Regions from separate parts of the Homo sapiens genome. Here region 1 is linked to region 2. Evidence: promoter capture Hi-C in human tissues and cell types (Jung and others, 2019). All regions are on one chromosome and are shown on one strand. The core of a region is centred on a gene start or on the middle of the fragment in contact, and the rest is flanking DNA. Distances in the headings are between cores, read along the strand shown.

Region 1 (6,142 bases), core at 277-2,776, 170 kb before region 2:
AAGCTCTCAAAACTCTTCCCAACCCATAAAATCCAATTGGATTTGCCTTAAAAACTGGGTAACTGAACCAGAAAAGGCTTATTCCCTTATTCCTTTGAATCAAGAAAGGAAACAAATGCAGGTTGTTTCCCCATCAAGGCAAGCGCAATGATGAATGCTTTGCTTTGACAGGAGTCACATGAGCCCTACTGCTAGGTGCATTTCTTTTTTTTTTTTTTTTTTTTTTTTTTGAGACAGAGTCTCGCTCTGTCTCCCAGGCTGGAGTGCAATGGCGCCATCTCAGCTCACTGCAAGATCCGCCTCCCAGGTTCACGCCATTCTTCTGCCTCAGCCTCCTGAGTAGCTGGGACTACAGGTGCCCGCCACCACACCTGGCTAATTTTTTGTATTTTTAGTTGAGATGGGGTTTCACCGTGTTAGGCAGGATGGTCTCATCTCCTGACCTCGTGATCCGCCCACCTTGGCCTCCCAAAGCACTGGGATTACAGGCATGAGCCACCACCGCCAGCCTGCTATGTGCATTTCTTTTAAAAAATGCCCTTTGCCCAACAGTGACTACTGATATCACTGATTACAGAAATACAAGCCCCCTTCAGAAATTTAGATCAGATTAATAAAGCTGTATCTTCTAGATCTCAAATGCACAGAAAAGCTTATTTAGGGCTTAAAAATTAATTGGTTAATTTACAAAGCTCTTTTACTACAATAAAAACAGTCCGTTTAGCTTTTGTATTTTTTTGAGACAGGGTCGCCTTTAACTCCCAGGCTCAAGGGTTCCTCATATCTCGGCCTCCCAAGTAGCTAGGACCACAGCGTGCACTAGCACGTCCAGCTAATTTTTAAAAACCTTTTTATAGAGATGGGGTCTCACTGTGTTGTCTAGGAGGGTCTTGAACTCCTGGGCTCAAGCTATCCTCCCACCATGGCCTTCCAAAGTGTTGGGATTACAGGCCATGAGCCACCACACCCAGCCTTAGATTCTTCTTAAAACATTTATTACCTATTAAAGGGTTTTAGTTATGGCCACGCACAGTGGCTCCTGCCTATAATCCCAGCATTTTGAGAGTTCAAGGCAGGAGGATTACTTGAGCCCAGGAGTTCAAGACCAGCCTGGGCAACATGGCGAAACCTTGTCTCTACAAAAAATATAAAAGTTACCCAGGCATGGTGGCACATGCCTGTAGTCCCAGATATTCAGAAGGCTGAGGTGGGGAATCACCTGAGCCCAGGAGGTCGAGGCTACAGTGAGCCAAGATCACGCCACTTTACTCCAGCCTGGTTGATGGAGTGAGATCCTGTCTCATAAAAACAAAACAAAACAAAACCCCAAGAAAACACCAACAGGGGGTCAGTTATCAACTAGTTTTAAAACTCAACATTTACCTGAGTAAAACCGTTTTAAATTAAATAGCATTCATGGTATTACAATCTGAACAAATTCATAAAATCAGGAAAGGGGGAAGTATACAATGCTAGCTGGTAGAGCTAACCTTACTTTTGATTTTATTCGTGTTAAGTACTGTTTACATTTTTCATAAAATTATATATTACTTTAACACCCGAAGAAACAATCACCGTATTTTATCACAAGATTTTAAAAAACAGTTAAAAATACTGCAGTTTTCCCTTTACACATGGAATACATTCCAAGAACCCCAGTGAATGCCTAAAAACAGAGATAGTACCGCACCGACATACACTGTTTTTTCCTATACATACATACCTATGATAAAGTTTAATTTATAAATTAGGTACAGTTAAGAGATTAACAACAATAAAATAGGACAATTATAGCAATATACTGTAATAAAAGTTATATGAATGTGGTCTCAAAATACTGTAATAGTTTCAGACTGTGGTTAACCTATGGCAACTAAAACCACAGAAAAGAGGAAACTACCATAATGTCAAAAAGTGACAGATGTTTTTAAAACATGGCTACAAATTATTTAATAGTCTTTTTTCTTGAGTGTGGGCTGGACTTAATGACTTCCTTCTAATAGAAGAAAGTGGGCTGGGCATGGTGGCTCATGTTTGTAATACCATCACTTTGGGAGGCTGAGGCAGGAGGATCACTTGAGCCCAGGAATTTCAGACCAACCTAGGCAACACAGTGAGACCTCGACTCTAAAAAAAAAAACATTTTAAAATATATATTAACAGGGCATGGTGGTGCACCCATAGTACCAGCTACTCAAGAGGCTGAGGTGGGAAGATCGCTGAGGCAGCAGTGAGTTGAGTTCGCACCACTACACTCCAGTTTGGGCAACAGAGTCAGACTCTGTTTCCAAAACAAAACAAAACAAGACAAAAAAAACCCCATAAAGAATAAAGTGGAAGTGACAGTGTGTAATTTCAGAGACAGTCATAAAAAGCACTAAAGCTTTCTCTTTGCTCTCTTTGATCACTCACTGTGGGGAAAGCCAGCTGCCATGTGGGTAAGGACAGGCAAAGAGGTGAAGAACTGAGGCATCCTATCTACATCAAAGTGACTGATGTTGGAAGCAGATCATCCAGCAACAGTCAAGCCTGCAGATGACTGCAATCTCACGAGCGCCTAAGCCAGAACTACCTGACTAAACTGCTCCTGATTTCCTGACCATAAGGAACTATGTGATAATAAGTGTTTATTGCTTTAACCTGCTAAGTTTTGATTTGTTACATGGTAACAGATAAATTTAAAAAATGAAATGTGGTCGGGCGTGGTGGCTCACGCCTGTAATCTGAGCACTTTGGGAGGCCGAGGCAGGCGGATCACGAAGTCAAGAGATCAAGATCATCCTGGCCAACATGGTGAAACCCTGTCTCTAGTAAAAATACAAAAAAAATTAGCCAAGCATGGTGGCGCGTGCCTGTCGTTCCAGTTACTTGGGAGTCTGAGGCAGGAGAACCACTTGAACCTGAGAGGCAGAGGTTGCAGTGAGCCAAGATCAAGCCACTGCACTCCAGCCTGGTGACAGAGCGAGACTCCGTCTCAAAAAAAAAAAAATGACTTTATTGGCCAGGCACAGTGGCTCACACCTATAATCCCAACACTATGGGAGGCCAAGGCAGGTGGATCACCTGAGGTCAGGAGTTTGAGACCAACCTGGCCAATATGGTGAAACCCCATCTCTACTAAAAATACAAAAATCAGCCGGGCGTGGTGGTGGGTGCCTGTAATCCCAGCTACTAGGGAGGCTGAAACAGGAAAATCGCTTGAACCCAGGAGGCAGAGGTTGCAGTTGAGCTGAGATTACGACACTGCAGTCTGGCCTGGGTGACAGAGCAAGACACGCCCGGCTAATTTTTTGAGCTAGTATGGTATCCTAGAAAGAAATGGCTTAAGGTTAATAGGACAACTGGGTTCTGGTCCTGTCTGTGTTAACTCCCACTGTGGTCCTGGACCTAACATCTTTTCTTGGAGTCAATTTCCTAATGATAAGATCAGGTTGAATTTCTGATTTCCAAAATTATTTTCTGAACTTAAGTTTAACATGATATGTCCAAAAGTGTTCTGAGATCAGGTATGTTGGGGAATTTCTGGGTTTAATGAAGTTAAACAAGATTCGTTAAAGACTTTTCACATCCATGGCCAGACGAGGTGGCTCACGCCTGTAATCCCAGCACTTTGGGAGGCCAAGGAAAGCGGATCACTTGAGGTCAGGAATCTGAGACCAGCCTGGGCAAGAAGGTTAAACCCCGCCTCAACTAAAAATACAAAAATTAGCCAGGCGTGGTGGTGGATGCCTGTAATCCCAGCTACTCAGGAGGCCAAGGCAGGAGAATTGCTTGAACCCAGGAGGCGGAGGTTACAGTGAATGGAGACCACGCCACCGTACTCCAGCCTGGGTGACACAGCCAGACTCCCATCGCAAAAAAAAAAAAAAAAAAAAAAGGACTTTTCACATCCTTTGAAGTGCTAATGAGTGGTCTATATATTGAGAGGAGGGGTACTGGTATGTAGTAGGCAGATTTTCCAAAACTGTTCTGGAACCAACCTCTTGTAAAGGTTTCCAGTGATTGTCTATCTTGATAACCATATATGGCAAGACCTCCAGTACAAAAGAAATAACTGCTTCAATTAAGAATGAGAGAATAATAGTACTTACATCAACTGCAGCATCCTCATCATCTGAATCTTGTAGACCAAGAGCTGCTTTTTGTAACTTCTTCCTCTCATTAGCCAAAGCTTGTTCTGTTTCATCAAACTTGAATCCCTTACCAGAGAACCCACTACTCTTTTTAATTATTTTCCCCTCCTTTCAAAAAAAGAAAACGAAGTTAATCTCATAGTAAAAACTTTAATGTTTAGGAATTCATACTAATTAAATATTTTTCAAGGTGGTGTATGTCAATGTAATAAAAACACTTCATCTAGCATGTAAGATAAACTAAGAGCTCTACATAGACACCACAAAATACTAAGTTCAAGAATAAGATAGGATTTTAGCTTTCACTCATTTTTCCCTCTAGAGAGAAATAAAAATAGTCGTAGCAAAATTTTCAAGTGTTAAATAAAAGATTTCCAAGAATTAAATAATCAAGGTTTAGTCACATTAATGATTTCTAGAAGAGTAACATGGGTTAAAAACTCACAGCTTTCTGCTGATCTTTGAAATCACTCCACAGTTTCTCTAAATCAGGAGGTACTGCAGTCCCTGACAATTCAAGAGCTTTAATTATGTCACCAGCATAGCGAGCTTGATCCTCTGTGATAAAAGTATAAGCATAACCCTAATGCATGATGAAAAAGTACAATTATTAGACACTAACAAGATGGATCCTACTTAGATCATAAGATAAAATCTGATCCACCTAATAAATCCTCGAGATTGACAACATTAACTAAAGAATTTTAAAAGCCACGAAAGAGTCTTACTAAATTACTTAATGGTTCAAAGTGAAATATCCAAGTTTAATTTTTATTTTTTGTTGTTTTTTATTTTTTTGAGATGGAGTCTCACTCTGTTGCCCAGGCTGGAGTGCAGTGGCGCAGTTTTGGCTCATTGCAACCTCTGCCTCCCGGGTTCAAGTGATTCTCCTGCCTCAGCCTCCCGAGTAACTGGGATTATAGGCGCCTGCCACTATGCCCGGCTAATTTTTGTATTTTCACTAGAGACATGGTTTCACCATGTCGGCCAGGCTGGTCTCAAATTCCTGACCTCAGGTGATCCGCCCGCCTTGGCCTCCCAAAGTGCTGGGATTACAGGCACGAGCCACTGTGCCCGGCCCAAGTTTAATATTTTAAAATAACACAAGCAAACTAGAAAATTTCTAATTTCTTTACACAGAGGTAGAAATATATGCAATTGGCTGGACGCAGTGGCTCACGCCTGTAATCCCAGCACTTTGGGAGGCCAAGGGGGGGTGGATCATTTGAGGTCAGAAGGTCGAGACCAGCCTGACCAACATGGTGAAACCCCATCTCTACTAAAAACACAAAAAAATTAGCCGAGTGTGGTGGTGGCATGCCTGTGATCCCAACTACTTGGGAGGCTGATGCAGGAGAATCACTTGATCCTGGGAGACGGAGGTTGCAGTGCATGTGAGATGGCGCCAATGCACTCCAGTCTGGGTGACAAGAGTGAAACTCCGTCTCAAAAAAAAAAAAGAAACATAGGTAATTTTACACAAATGCACAATTGTGTGGTCATACCTTTTGATTTTGTTTTTTGTTTTTCCTTTTTTTTTTTGAGATGGAGTCTCGCTAGAGTTTGCTATCTTCACAAAACAATCTGACCTTGCTGGGTACAATGGCTCACACCTGTAATCCCAGCACTTGGGGAGGCAGAGGTGGAAAGATAGCTTGAGCCTAGGAGTTGGAGGCCAGCCTGGGCAAAAATGGCAAGACCACATCTCCACAAAAATGTAAAAAACAAAACCAAAAAAACAATCTGACCCAAACAGTCAACTGTTGCGATTTTTTGTTTGTTTGTTTCTGAGACAAGAGTTTTGCTCCTGCTGCCCAGGCTGGAGTGCAATGGCACAATCTTGGTTCATCGCAACCTCTGCCTCCCGGGTTCAAGCTATTCTCCTGCCTCAGCCTCCCGAGTAGCTCGGATTACAGGCATATGCCACCATGCCCGGCTAATTTTTTATTTTTATTTTAGTAGAAACAGGGTTTCTCCATGTTGGTCAGGCTGGTCTTGAACTCCCAACC
Region 2 (6,109 bases), core at 2,164-4,663:
GTAATCCCAGCACTTTGGGAGGCCGACGCGGGCGGATCACCTGAGGTCAGGAGTTTGAGACCAGCCTGACCAATGTGATGAAACCCTGTCTCTACTAAAAATACAAAAATTAGCCGGGTGTGGTGGCATGCACCTGTAATCCCAGTTGCTCAGGAGGCTGAGGCAGGAGAATTGCTTGAATCTGGGAGGCAGAGGTTGCAATGAGCCATTGCACTCTAGCCTGGGCAACAAAAGTGAAACTCCATCAAAAAAAAAAAAAAAAAGAGTTTTCAACAGAATATGCAAGCATCAACTACTGCTTTGGAATAGTTAAGCAAAACTAGATCCCAGCATTGAAACGTTTTCTCACCTTCTTGAAAAATATCCTGTTCTCCAACTTGATACCATATCCCTACTCTCTGTATTATTAGCAGGATGAACAATAAAACAACCCAGGCTAGGCTTGGTAGCTCATGCCTCTAATCCCAGCACTTTGGAAGGCTGAGTCAGGAGGATCACTTGAGGTCAGGAATTTCAGACCAGCCTAGGCAACATAGAGAGACTCATCTCTACAAAATATATATAAAACATTATATATATAATATACATATATCTTTACATTAGGCCGGGCGTGGTGGCTCATGCCTGTAATCCCAGCACTTTGGGATGCCAGGGTGGGCGGATCATTATGAGGTTTGGAGTTCAAGACCAGCCTGGCCAACATGGTGAAACCCCATCTCTACTAAAAATACAAAAATTAGCCGGTTGTGGTGGCACAGGCCTGTAATCCCAGCTACTCGGGAGGCTGAGGCACGAGAATCACTTGAACCTGAGACATGGAGGTTGCAGTGAGCCGAGATCGAGCCATTGTACTCCAGCCTGGGCAACAGAGTGAAACTCTGACTCAAAAAATAATAATAAAATATATACATTATATATATATATTATATACTTATATAAAAAATGGGGCCTGGTGGTATGCACCTGTAGTTCTAGCTACTGGGGAGGCTGAGGTGTGAGGATTGCTTGAGCCCAGGAGTGACAGTGAGTTGTGATCCTGCCACTGCACTCCAGCTTGAGGGACAGTTTAAGTAAGATCCTGTCTCAAAAAAAAAAAAAAGGCAAAATACAAAAAACCTGTAGAGGCCAGGCACAGTGGCTCATGCCTGTAATCCCAGCACTTTGGGAGACCAAGGTGGGTGGATCACTAGAGGTCAGGAGTTTGACATCAGCCTGACCAGCATGGTGAAACCCCGTCTCTACTAAAAATATAAAAATTAGCTGGGTGTGGTGACACGTGCCTGTAATCCCAGCTACTTCAGAGGCTGAGGCAGGAGAATTGCTTGAACCTGGGAGGAGGAGGTTGCAGTGAGCCGAGATAGCGCCATTGCACTCCAGCCTGGGAGACAAAAGCAAAACTCCGTCTCAAAAAACAAACAAACAAACAAACAAACAAAAAACCCTGTAGAAATGGAACTTATAAAAAGACTATGAAAATTATATTTTAAAAAAGAGGTCTGGGTACCGTGGATCAGGCCTGTAATTACAGCACTTTGGAAGGTTAAGGAGGCAGGAGAATCGCTTGAACCCAGGAATCAGAGGTTGCAGTGAGCCAAGATCACCACCACTGCACTCCAGCCTGGGCAACAGAACAAGACTCCATCTCAAAAAAAAAAAAAAAGATGTGGAACAAATGTCTGTTGGACTGTATCAAATCAACATAGTGACAGTATCTCTAATACAGCATACCACAGTGGTCAAATCCCTTTAACATTTCAATATTATGACAACTACACTCATATATAAATGTTGAAGCACATTTGAGGATTTGTCATTTAAAGTTAATGTAAAACTGCAATTTATAGATTATAAGAAAAATCCATAGCCATGTAACATTTTTTCTCATCCTCAGTGTAAATGTTACTAAATATTCTAGAATAAAATGTAGTGTACATAATCTGTTACCATAATTTTGAGAAAGAATGGTTAACTCAGTACCCTTTCAGTGGCTTTCCTCCACTTATTCTTTCTTCTGCCCACATAGTTGCCTACTCACAGACATTTTTAAAAGTCTTTTAGAGCCATCTTTGTAAAGAAAACAGCGGTCTTCTCTAAAAACAATGTAAATTAGAGATTTTAGTCACTGTCTGTATTCTCCAACTTCACAGAACTCTTAGACTCTAATGGGCAACTTAAGTTCTTTAGCATTATTCTACTAGTCTTATTTCTGTAAACCAAAGATTTGTAAGTAAATTGGTAAGTAGGCAATCTGTCGGCAGAAAGTCTTTGTCTATTGTAACAACTGAAATAATCTTAGCAAATCACAATGTAGGACGATTTAAGGAATCCTAGAAGAGGTATAAAATTATAAGACATTCTCACATCAAATGACAAACTATAATGTACATGTAGACTCTTGTCAGAGATTCAGAGAGTTGTGTCCACCCACTTTCCAAATGCTGTCCAGACATCTAGAAGTCAACCAGGAGATCCTCCCTTCTATTTGGTTTTTCCACAGCTGAAACATTGAACAGCTGTTGTAGGTACAATTCTGGGAAGGTTCTGGGAGAGATGAGTAGGCCCTAAAGGGGTGTCCCAAAAGCATGCATTCATCTCCAGAAACTCAGACTGAGTACGACCCCCACCCCACTTCAGGGCCTGCGGAACCCAGAAGAATCAGACCCCACATCCTGCTCTCTAGGAGACTGGGGTGAGGTGGCAAGGAAGGCGAAGGCACACAAACACTATGATCCTTATATTCGAGTTTTGAGGCATTTTCTCACCCGTGTTTCACCCAGGGCGTTGCATACAGCAGGTGCTCATTTACTGTTTTGGTGACCGACTAAATAAATGTGAAAGACTGAGACGAGCCTGGGGCTACAGGTGCACAACTGCCGTGGTCCCCTGGCCCAGCCGCCCACCACCATCCGCGCCAGAACCCGGTAAGGAGGTCACTCTCTCTATCTATGTCGCCTCAAGCAGCAGTGGCACGCAAAGGTCAGTCAGCCCTGGCCAGGCTGCGCCCTCCCCCCGGACAGCACTCACCGTTGGTGTAGGGAGACCCCGAGGCCAAGGCGGCTCCGTTCTGGGCCTGGAGGCTGGCTGGGGCGCCGCCGGAGGCCGGTATTCCCGGCTGGGACATGATGACTGGGTTGGAAGGGGCTGGTCGGGGTCGACAACAGCGCACAAGAAGAGAGCTGAAAGACCACTGCTGAAAGCGGAGGGAGGAGGCTAACGACTTAAGACTGAAGACTGGGAGAAGAGGGGGGGGCGCATTAAGCCCGAGGCATGGCGCCGCACTCTCCCCAGGCCACCGGCGGCCACAGCCTAGCCTGGGAGCTGAGGCTTGAGAGTCGGGCCGGCGGGGCCGCGAACGCCCGGCTAGAAGGCGGCAGCCAAACCTAGAGAGAAGGAGGGAGGCCCTGGCCGGAAGTGCCTGTCAGCCGCCGGCCGCGCAGCCGCAATCAGGACACGTGGCACTTCCGGCTCCGGGCTCGCAGCAGCCGCCGCCGCGCCGGCGAACTCTTCTCTGCCAGCCGGGCTGCCCCGAGGCCACCTGACAGCTCCTGGTGCCCCGACCCCGACGACCGTGCCCGGCCTCGCCGCCACGTCACCGACTCTCACGGCCGGCCGGAAGTGCCGTGTGTCACCGCTACGGAAATTCCCGCCGTTGTGAACGTGACCTCGCTCGCAGAGCCAGGATCGTGGGGCAATCTGAGATTCAGTAGCCGCTTTCGTGGGGTGGGACTGACAGTTCCTCTCCTCGGGTTTTGTGAAGATTACCTGAGACCATAGAAGTCATCGTCCTCTGTTGAGACCGTACCACCACTGGGAGCTGGGGCGGTTAATGTTCATCGCAGTATTTCATTCACATTTCGTCTTCGTGTTTCAGATGTAAATTATAAGGGGTTTTAAAAAGAGGTGGTTAAATATGTGTACATGTTAATAGTGTGATCAAGCCAAGAAGGAGGCCTTTGTCTTTGACTGGAGGACTCAGAGGAATTTTAATTTTGAAACTCGCTGATTCACAGCATAGTCACGCTCAAGTTCATTAGCACATTTAAATGGCAGTTTTGTTTCCTCTTCTAAGAGTTTACAGTAAGGTAAAGAACTCAAACTTCCTTTCAGAGCAAGTAGACTTTTTTTTTTTTTGCAAGTTGACTTTTTTGACTTTTGAAGCCAAAGGGAGGTCGAAACTGCGGTGATTGGACAACATAGTTAATTAATGATTGAGTAATCATCTTAGCTGCCTTCATTCTATTTAGGTTTTTCCTGCTCTGTGCTGACGATAAAGCCCTCCTTTACAGATTTGTACTGTGGATTAAAATGTCATGCCACGCGGTTTCGAAACCTCAGTGTGAAGTACATCTTACCTAATTCATTTAATACCAAATGCCTGCTATGAAGTGTTATATTACATACAAAAAAAAGCCAGATCTAAACCACTGTGTCGGGCTGGGCAAGGTGGCTCACTCCTGTAATCCAAGCACTTTGGGAGGCTGAGACAGAAGGATTACTTGAGGCCAGGAGTTTGAGACCAGTCTGGACAACAGGGAGAGTCCCCTTATCTCTATTTAAAAAATATATATATATATATATTTTTGAGACAGAGTCTTGGTCTGTTGCCCAGGCTGGAGTGCAGTGGTGCCATCTCCGCTCACTGCAACCTCCGCCTCCTGGGTTCAAGCAATTCTCCTGCCTCAGTCTCCCGAGTAGCTGGGATTACAGGCTCCTGCCACCATGCCTGGCTAATTTTTGTATTTTTAGTAGAGACAGGGTTTCACCATGTTGGCCAGGCTGGTCTTGAACACCTGACCTCAGTTGATCCACCCGCCTCAGCCTCCCAAAGTGCTGGGATTACAGGCGTAAGCCACCATGCCCAGCCAATGTTTTTAATTAAATAAATTTTTAAAAAGTGGCCAGTGTGGTGGCACATCCCTGTAGTCCCAGCTACTCAGGAGGCTGATGTGGGAGGATCACCTGAACCCAGGAGTTCGAGGCTACAGTGAGCTGTGATCTCACCACTGCACTCCAGCCTGCATGACAGAGTGAGATCTTGTCTCTAAGAAAAGAAAAAGAATAAACCACTGTGTCAGGCCTAAAAAAGGTCAGTAAAAATTCAAATAACTAAATACTAAATTTTATACTAACCCTGTTTTCATCATTTGCCTCAGAACTTTACTAAAAATGTATTTGCTCGGGCGTGGTAGCTTACAACTGTAATCCCAGCACTTTGGGAGGCCAAGGCGGGCGGATTACCTGAGGTCAGGAGTTCAAAACCAGCCTGGCCAACATGGTGAAACTCTGTCTCTACTGAAAATACAAAAATTAGCCAGGTGTGGTGGCACATGCCTGTAATCCCAGCTACTCAGGAGGATGAGGCAGGAGAATTGCTTGAACCCAGGAGACGGAGGTTGCTGTGAGCCAAGATTGTGCCACTGCACTCCAGCCTGGCTGACACAGCAAGACTGTCTCAAAAAATAAAAAATAAAAATAAATAAATATTTGCTGTAAGTAGCATTTAACAATTCAATTCCTTTGTACAAGATCCAAGTACAATAACTTTTTTTTTTTTTTTGAGACAGTCTGTTGTCCAGGCTGGAGTGCAGTGGTGCAGTCACAGCTCATTGCTGCCTCAACCTCCTGGGCTCAAGCAGTCCTCCAGCCTCAGCCTCCTGAGTAGCTGGAACTACAGGTGTGTGCCATTATGCCTGGCTAGGTTTTTATTTGTTTGTTTGTTTGTTTGTTTGTTTTTGTAAAGAGAAGGTCTTGCAAGAGATCCTCCTGCCTCATCCTTCCAAAATGAGATTACAGGTTTGAGCCACCACGCCCAGTTAAAATCTTAAGATGAAGATGATACTTTTGGTCAAATTGTTTACAGTTTGGAGCCACTATAACAAAATCCCAAGTTATAGATCCAAAAACACTTTAAAATTGCACAGACACAAGCCTCTCAATGTTTTGAAGAGGAAATAGAGCTCAGAGAGAAACAACCTTTCTGAGGTCAGACAAAATCAGGGTCACTCTTCAAAGAGGCAAATACCTGATCTCAAACCTGCATTAGTTTAATTATCTCTTTTTATTCAGCTCCTTTTGAATGATCTTGATTTGTTTTGACCTTGGCACAGTG

What was found. The method cuts DNA at HindIII sites, captures the fragments that hold promoters and counts their contacts. A contact is called where the count stands out against the background at its distance.
Region 1: a fragment that was not itself captured here is called in contact with the fragment with the promoter of SEC24A in region 2 in 1 of the 25 tissues and cell types used here (aorta).

What each region holds. Positions count from the first base shown.
Region 1 is chr5:134,809,795-134,815,936 of GRCh38, reverse strand. It overlaps DDX46 (DEAD-box helicase 46), which reads right to left. Exons shown (of 23, transcript NM_001300860.2): 17 at 4,579-4,716; 18 at 4,092-4,241. Among named protein-coding and RNA genes, the nearest start is that of C5orf24, 33 kb to the left of the region's middle. The HindIII fragment of the contact is 3,502 bases long and covers 1-3,277 here.
Region 2 is chr5:134,646,089-134,652,197 of GRCh38, reverse strand. SEC24A (SEC24 homolog A, COPII component) reads right to left here and starts at 3,413. Exons shown (of 23, transcript NM_021982.3): 1 at 3,025-3,413. The coding sequence starts at 3,121. RefSeq lists enhancers at 3,228-3,765, 3,513-3,802, 3,813-3,872. The HindIII fragment of the contact is 35,050 bases long and covers 1-6,109 here.